Linked DNA regions of Homo sapiens: region 1 is linked to region 2. The links are contacts of gene promoters, found by promoter capture Hi-C in blood cells and fetal thymus (Javierre and others, 2016). All regions are on one chromosome and are shown on one strand. The core of a region is centred on a gene start or on the middle of the fragment in contact, and the rest is flanking DNA. Distances in the headings are between cores, read along the strand shown.

What was found. The method cuts DNA at HindIII sites, captures the fragments that hold promoters and counts their contacts. A CHiCAGO score of 5 or more calls a contact.
Region 1: a contact is called between a fragment that was not itself captured here and the fragment with the promoter of ABCD3 in region 2, in 1 of 17 cell types (non-activated CD4 T cells). The highest score is 5.1, in non-activated CD4 T cells.

Annotation. Positions count from the first base shown.
Region 1 is chr1:91,011,082-91,015,463 of GRCh38, forward strand. The region is part of intron 1 of ZNF644 (zinc finger protein 644); the gene reads right to left. Among named protein-coding and RNA genes, the nearest start is that of ZNF644, 8.8 kb to the right of the region's middle. The HindIII fragment of the contact is 3,689 bases long and covers 1-3,235 here.
Region 2 is chr1:94,417,040-94,421,129 of GRCh38, forward strand. It overlaps ABCD3 (ATP binding cassette subfamily D member 3), which reads left to right and starts at 1,350. Exons shown (of 23, transcript NM_002858.4): 1 at 1,350-1,549. The coding sequence starts at 1,440. RefSeq lists enhancers at 539-1,330, 1,802-1,941 and a silencer at 1,092-1,471. The HindIII fragment of the contact is 10,166 bases long and covers 1-3,664 here.

The DNA of each region.
Region 1 (4,382 bases), core at 141-2,640, 3.4 Mb before region 2:
TCTCAATATTTTGGAGATAATAATCATATACTTTTTTCAATGTCTAATTTAACCAATTTGCTTTAGCCTTCTATACTTCACAAAAGCTACAATAAGAAAAGTTGACAGGTGAGATTTTATTATTTCTTCAAGACAAATACTGAAATCCCTGGAGCAAGAGTATATTAAATGAACTTATTACAAATTCCAAAAGACAAAACTTCTTTATATAGAGTAAATATTTTCATTTATAAACTCGAGCATTCACAATCCAAATGTTAATGAGAAAGTCTTTTCATACCCATTTCTGCGCAATTTACATATTCATTCTTCAAAACCAGATATACTAGAATGTGAAGATATATTTTTTATTATATACGTTTAACAACATTATAATACCCATTTCAGAAAAAATTCTTTATCTGCAAAGCACCAATTTAATACTGCTATACTACAATAAGGTTTCTACTGCTCAGTATTTACGAAAAATAATGCTACAACTATTAATTCCATTTGGGGGAAAAAAACTGATTCAAGCACTAAAAGTAAAAATCATGATCAACAATTCTATTTCAGTTTTCCATTTATAAAGTCTCCTACATGGGCTTTAACCATTCACACTTGTAAGCAACTGTCCATAAGGTAACATTCTAGTTATATTCTACTTTTCTGTTGAACAGGTAGATGCCTACCTATAAAAAAAAAGTACACCTATTTATTCCTACCTCTAAAATTACAATCAGAAATACCCAAATACCTTAATAAGCAACCTAAAATGCCTAATAGCTAACTGACATAATGCCTGGAAGCTACCATCAAAGAGGCTCCAAAAACCATCTATATAAGGAGGCAATCCACAACTTCCTCCACCTACTTCCTGGCTATATGCCTAGAGAATACTGTAATGACAGCAAGCCAGGCAACTATGTTATCGGTGGAGGCAAATTCAAATCTCTGCATTCTAAACAAAATATCAAGTCATAAAACTAACCTCTAAAGGATTACTATTAATGAACACTAAGAAGCACCTCTCTGATTTTGTCACTGGGGGGAAAAAAGGGCCATAGTACCAAATATCACCTGATTTACCTCCCAATTCATAACAATGCCAAACAAGGACAGAAGAAAAGAGAGATGGATTCAAGCATCAATTCTCACTACCCTTGGGAGGGAGGACAAATATGCCATAAGAAGTTTAGAAACAAAAACTCCAGCCCGGGCAACATGGTAAAACCCTATCTCTACTACCGAAAGAAAAAAAAAAAAAATCAGCCAGGCATGATGGCATGCACCTGTAGTTCCAGGTACTCAGGAAGCTGAAGGAGGAGGATCGCTTGAGCCTGGGAGGTGAAGGCTGCAGTGAGCTGAGATTGCGCCAATGCACTCCAGCTAGGGTGACAGACTGAGACCCTGTCTCAAAAGAAAAAAAAAGGAAGGAAAAGAAAAAGAAACAAGCAAAAACTAATTTATGGTGATAGAGGTTAGAGGTTAAAATAGTGGTTACTTCTGTAGGGAGAAATTAATAGGAGGGAGCACAAGGCACCTTTAATCAGTGAAGAAAAATATTCTACATCTCTATCTGGGTATTTCATTTAAAATAGGCTCTAATCACGGAAAATGCTTGCATTCCACAATTCTCATGTCTGTGCTTTTTTTACATCCTCTTCTCCCCAGGTGTAACCCAGTACCTCCCACTACCTGGGAGTTACCTAGGTATACTTATATGTATAAATTCACTGAGTTGTACTTAAGATTTGTGCACTTCACTGTATGTTATACCTAAAAAAAATACTTAAAAACAAGTAACCAATTAATAGCTAAATCTAAAAACCTTTTCTCAATTCTCATCCTTCTTTATCAATCTCCATCATATTGTTAATCACAGAACATCAATATTCCCTAAATGAAACACTTTCCCTTTTGAAGATCGACTAGGCTTTGTTAGGATGTTTTTTCCAGCATTTTCTGTAGTGTCATATTAATTCTCTCTAAATATTAATTCAATATTTATCTTTTTTCTTTTGTTTTTTGGAGACTGAGTCTCACTCTGTCGCCCAGGTGGGGATGCAGTGGCATGATCTTGGCTTACTGCAACCTCCGCCTCTCATGTTTAAGCAATTCTCCCGCCTCAGCCTCCCAAGTAGGTGGCATTATAGGTGCACACCACCATGCCCAGCTAATTTTTGTATTTTCAGTAGAGACGGGATATTTCATCATATTGGCCAAGCTGGTCTCAAACTCCTGACCTCAGGCGATCTGCCGACCTCAGCCTCCCATAGTGCTGGGACTACAGGCATGAGCCAATGCACCCAGTTAATTCAGTATTTATCAAGTGCTCATGTATGAGACACGAATTAGGCACCCTCCAATATATATTTCCAATCTCTCTCTCACACACACACACACACACACACACACACACATACACACACACACACACATATACACACCCAAACCAAATTCCCTAAACTGGATTCAAGCCACTCTATTACCTGGTATCAAACTGTATTTGCTGTTTTAATTCCTATCACTTCTTTATGGGAATATTCTTCTCAAGCATTTTCTGTTCTCAGCTATCCTTTACGGTTCAGTTCAATTTCTATGTTATTCTTTCCCTATACCCCATAGGACTTACTATCTGTAATTGCACTGTCCAATACAGTAACTTCATGTGGCTACTGAATACCTGAACTCTGGCTAGTCTGAATTGAGATGTGCTTTAAGTATGTAATACTAACAGATTTTGAAGACTTAACATGGTTAAAAAAAGAAAAAATGTAAAATAGTTCAATCATGTTTATATGATGAAATAATAGTATTTAGATACTGGGTTAAATAAAAATCCATTAATAAAATTTCACCTATTTATTTTATTTTTTGATGTGGCTATAGAAAATCTAAAATTGCATTTGTGGCTCAACTTATATTTCTATTGGGCAGTGCTGACCTATACAATCTATTTATAAATGCCCACAAATTACCTTTTTCTTCTTCTTCTTCTTAAACTGATAAATACAAATTGTATATATTTATGGTGTACAACACATTTTGAAATACATATAAATTATGCAATGGTTAAATCTAGCTAATTAACACATGCATTACCTCACATAGTTATATTTTGTGGTGTGAACACTTAAAATGTACTCTCCTAGCAACTTTCAAGTATGCAATATTAACTATAGTTACTATGCCCCACAAATTATCTCTTAACATATAATGTCATCTTCCCGATGAGTGCCAGAATTCAACATTAAGCTTTTTTCTTTTATGAATTAAATATTATATTAGGAATTACTAATAGTAATTAAGTGCCATTTAATTTTAATATCCCTTTAAGATTTTTAACAAGGAAGTGTAAGGCATTTCAAAGTGTTCAAATATTAAAAAAAAGTTGTTTTCAGATAGCTATAAATTATACAATTTTTCATCTATATTTTACTTATATACAATTCTAAGTCAAATGTCCCACCAGCAAGGATAGATAGCATGATTAAACCTGTAGCAATCCAAATCCCATAAAGTATTAGTTCTGATTAAGCCTGATTTTTTTCATCTTAGTCACTCAGTAAAGGGCAGCATCCATTTTGGTCAACATCATTGTACCAATGTCCAGCAGCCAAGACAAAGAGCCTTTATATGGTGGTATGAATAGACAATGAGAGCAATACGACACCACTTGAAATAAGGGGGGGGAGAAAAATGTTTTTATAATGCTAAGTTTTAAAACTAGGAGATGAAACTTACAAATTGTGTAACAACTAGGTAAAAGGATATATATGTAAGAAGAACAGGAAGGTAGAACAGAAAGGTCTCCTCTCTAGACCTTCTCAAGATATACCTAGGTTCAAACTTGGCTACTCCATTATTAAGTGGATGTGTTTCCTCACATGTAAAGTGGGAATATATACATCACAGGATTATTAAAAGAATATAGTAGATGCTTAATTAACGTCATCTGTCTTTAATACTAATAATTATATAATGGTAATAAGATTATGGGTGACTTCCCCTCCCTCACTTTCCAAATTGCTGTATTTTTCAAGCATAAATGAAAAACTTACAATTTCATACTAGTACCCCTCCTCAAATGAACCTAAAATTATTTTTACTAGCTGTCTTTGACAAATTTGCTTATAAGCTTAAAATCCGTGTTTGTGCTAGGAGGAGGTTGGTGGTAGAAAGAAAATTAAAGAGGGGGAACTGATAACTTTAACACCATACCAGCACAGACATATACAAAACAAAGTGTGGAGAGGAAAAGAGCAAAAGGAAATGCTGTTTGGGAAATTCCCAACTCAGACTATCCAATGAAAAGATTATATTCCACCCGCCTCAATCTAGCTACCTACCAGCCACTCCTCACTCTCATCTTGGGTTTATACGTACATTACAAATACGCA
Region 2 (4,090 bases), core at 100-2,599:
ATACACATTAAATTTGTATGCCTTTTCTCCTATTAATTTTTTCTTCTATTAATCTGCCTTATGTCAGCGGTTTTCAGTTAACTTTCAGAGGGCCAAAACCTTTTGTCCCTCCAGGTAATGAAAATGTCCACATGACAAATAGTGAATTAGTAGGAGCTTCAGTTCTGCATAATTTAGAATTCACTGTTGAGCACCTCTATACGCATGCCATTATTGTACCTCGTCTTTGTGATCCTCATAACCTGTATTAGGCAACAGCTCATTTATATTGAGAAAACACCTAGGGCACAGCACCACTACTTTGTAGGCTACTTTAATATGTATGTGCATTATGCGAGGTTTTATGAGCTTATTTTCTGACACACTTGCTTTTCTCCAGTTTCCTCAGCTGAAAACAGCGATTCACTGTTACTGTATATATGCTAGGCTCAATGCTGGCGATAACAATTCCTGCAACATAGGGTCAGACAGGAGAAGAATGTTGTAATCTGCAAAGCCCTTCTGATTCTGGGAGTGAGGCCAGCATTAATACAACGCACGATTGTTACTTCTGAATGTCCCTTTGCAAAGAACAGTGTTTCTCAAACTTTTTTCTGACCAGATCTGCATACATTTTACATCGCCGCTGGCGATACATACGTGCAAAACACTGAAATCGAAATTTCTCTAAACAACTCCTTTACTACGTGATGTACTGTGAAACTTTTCTATTTTGTTCTATTCTCAATTTTATTAAAAACGGAGGGTGATGATCCCGATCTACCAAACCAATTTCACAATGCGCTAGAGATTATAACCCGCGGTTTGGAAAATACTGGCTTGGAAAAAGCTCTTTGATCTGTGTCATTCTCCTCACATCTCCCTACACCTCTGCGGAGTTCCGATTGTTTGGTTTCGTCCTGATAATCACTGTGCTGTGTTTTCCCTACACGCTCTGTGACGGGGCCGTCCGCCTCCTTCCTGGGCTCCTTTAAGAGGGTGGTAACGGTACATCACCGCGGGAGTGGAGAGGCAGGGCCCACTAGGTCGTCGCTGCAGGCCAGGCCCGCTCATCCAGTTATTGTGAAAGCCGGGGTGTGCGCGCGAAGAGTGGGAGGGTAGGGGTGAGGCAGGGGCAGCACTGACGCCTCGCAGGGCTGAGTAGCAACAGCTCCTCCGCGCCGCGTTTCCGGAGACCCTGAAGGAGTCCGCGCGTGCGCAGAGCGCGTCCCGGGAACTGTTCCGCCCACGGAGGCTGCCGAGCGCGCTCCCGCCGGGCCAAAGTACAAAGTGGGCTCCAGAGCGCGGGCGGCGCGGCGGCGCGAGCCAGGGGGCGGTCCTGCGCGGCCGGCCCCGCCCTCTGCTCTCCTCCCAGTCTCCCCCGCGCTGCGTGCAGTAAGGTAGCCGCCGCCGCCGCCGCCGCCGCGTCCCCTCGCCGGCTCGCTGGTACCGGCAGTGCCATGGCGGCCTTCAGCAAGTACTTGACGGCGCGAAACTCCTCGCTGGCTGGTGCCGCGTTCCTGCTGCTCTGCCTGCTCCACAAGCGGCGCCGCGCCCTCGGCCTGCACGGGTAAGAAGGCCCGTAGCCGTGCAGCTTTCCCGGGCTGGAGCGGGCGCTCCCCGCGCGCTCTCTCTCCCCACCCGGCCGACAGGTCTCTTTGCCCGACGGGGTCGGGCGGAGAGAGGGCCGACCGCGACTGCCGTGGGACTTCAATGTCAGGGTGTCCGCGAGTCCCCGCCACGACGGCGTCGGTCCCAGCTGGCCTGTCCGGCGACCTCGCTCCACCCCGGGAGTGCGAATTCTTCTGTGCCCGCGGGCGAACCGGCGCCCAGCCAGCACTCAGGCAGCGGCCTCCAGTTGGGGGTGGGAGGGGGATGCGGTGTGTCCCCCACCCCCTTCCCTACATCACCCCCTTCTGTGTCAACTTTCTGGGTGTGTTCTGGTTTTGCCATCTCATCTTCAGACCGTGAAGGATTTGTTTTGGGGACGTGGATGTGTGATTGAGGATGGGGATTGGATTCGCCAGGCTGGAGGCTGGTGTCTAAGTCACTTGGACGAGGTTTGGCTCGATTCCCGACTAACTGCTATTGAAAGTCGCGAGGGTGGCTTCTATGAAACTATTCCCGGTCCACTTGGCAGGATTGCCGTCTAAAGTGGTGAGCCCTTGGAGTCGGTGAACCCTTTGGTCGGTGAACATTTGGTCGGTGGCATTTCATCCGGAAAGGCTGGATCGGTTCTGTCGGACTTAGAGGGAAATGTTTTCCTTCCTGGGCTCTGTAGGTGAAAGATGAGAGTGTGGTTTAGGTGAGGATCAAGCTCCTTTTTAATGACACGCCACTGCTTCCACCGCGGGAGAATTTCAGTGCTTAGATTTAACTTTGGGAGGTTATCAGTTCAGAAAAAGTAAAAAAGAGAGAGCTGAATTACGGTTGCGACATACAGGTATGTATGTCACATACATGCAATTTTTATTTGCTGGACAAGTGAAAGAGAAAAGGCTACTTCCCAAGCGTTCTTGCCAGTCATTGAATATTTCGTATTAAATCTTGACATACTACTTTCATGAATTTTATTTCATTCATTCCTCTGAGCAGGTACTGTTGCCTCCCGTGTTTGATTTGCCTACAATATCTAATTAGTAGTAAAATTTGGGCTAAAACACAAATAGACTTCTAGTTTATAGTACCCTTTCCATTAAGTTCTTTCTAGCCGCCTTCTGTTTTTATCTTACTAGAGTCTGAAGTGATGATCTTTCTTTTCCTTCCTAAATCCATTTAACAGAGTTGAAAATGATTTGCAGCATAGTCTGGGCAATAACAGCGCTTACTCATTTTTCTTCTATTCAGTTTGCTTTTAAAAGGATTAATTTGGGAAAATAAAAAGCAAGTTTTTCTGTTGGTTTGTATGAACTCCCAGTTGCAAATAGAAGTTACCTGTTACCTGGGAACATGCCAGTAGAAAGAAGATGTTAGGTCCTTTAACTTGAATTCTGTTTTTGCAAAGAAGTGTTTCAGGGCATAGAACAGGTGTTTTAATATGGAGGAGGGGACTCGAGGACAGCCCTACAAGTTCTGGATTACTTTTATGATTATATGTATATGTGATATAGTATCACATACATGCCACATACATATAGTACACATAGAGCTTGAAGAATTTTTACAAGTAGAACACACTCGTGTAATCAGCACCCAGATCAAGAAACAGAACATTATCAGCACCCCAGAAATTCTCCTCATGCCCCCATCCAGTCACAGTCCACCTAACTACTAAACCAGTTTGTAAGACCATAGATTATTGCTAAGGGAAATTTTAAACAGAATCTATTGGGAAATAGTAGCGATAGAAGTAAAATAATGTAATAGAATTTGTCTTATTAAATAATTTTAGCTCCTCATTTGCCATTGTAAAATGCCTAAAAAAATTTTTTTTTGAGAAACTTTGTGAGCTTTTGTGGGGATTAAATTCTTTAGCAGGAGATGTACTGAACAAAAGATTATTATTAGTCTTTTGCATTGGGATGAGTGGGGAAAATCTCTATTTTACACAGTATTTTGTTGGAGGAGATTGCAGATTCTGAGCAGATAATCATGAAGTTTAAATTGTTGAGGTGAAATGATTGAACTATTTTGAAACCATTAAAAATGGTATTGAGTGTATTTTTGTAGATATTGTACTTCCAGAAGCTTACAAATATCTTTTAGTCACCACCTTTGGTATCACAGTTTGAAGATTAGAAGATTCTAACTTTATATTTGAGTGGGCTTTTGAATATCTTTGGTAACAGAACTGATTAATTTTAATATCTGGTGCTTAATTAAGGAAACTGTGGCTACTTGGCCTTCTTTTGTCTATGTTGTTAATAGTAGGTTGGTTTTAGAATATATATTCCCTTAGAATTGGATAGGTAATAGAGCTAGTAAAATCACTTTAAAAGTTACAGTGTAACATTATTCCAAACATTGGGAGAATGAGTAATTAAATGTTCTGGGTTACTTTTAATTTTTGTTAATGTAATTTTTTTCACTCAGTTAAATCTCATATATATGTGTGTGTGTTTCTGACCTTTTATTGTGGAAAATTTCACACATATAAAAAATAAATAGAATA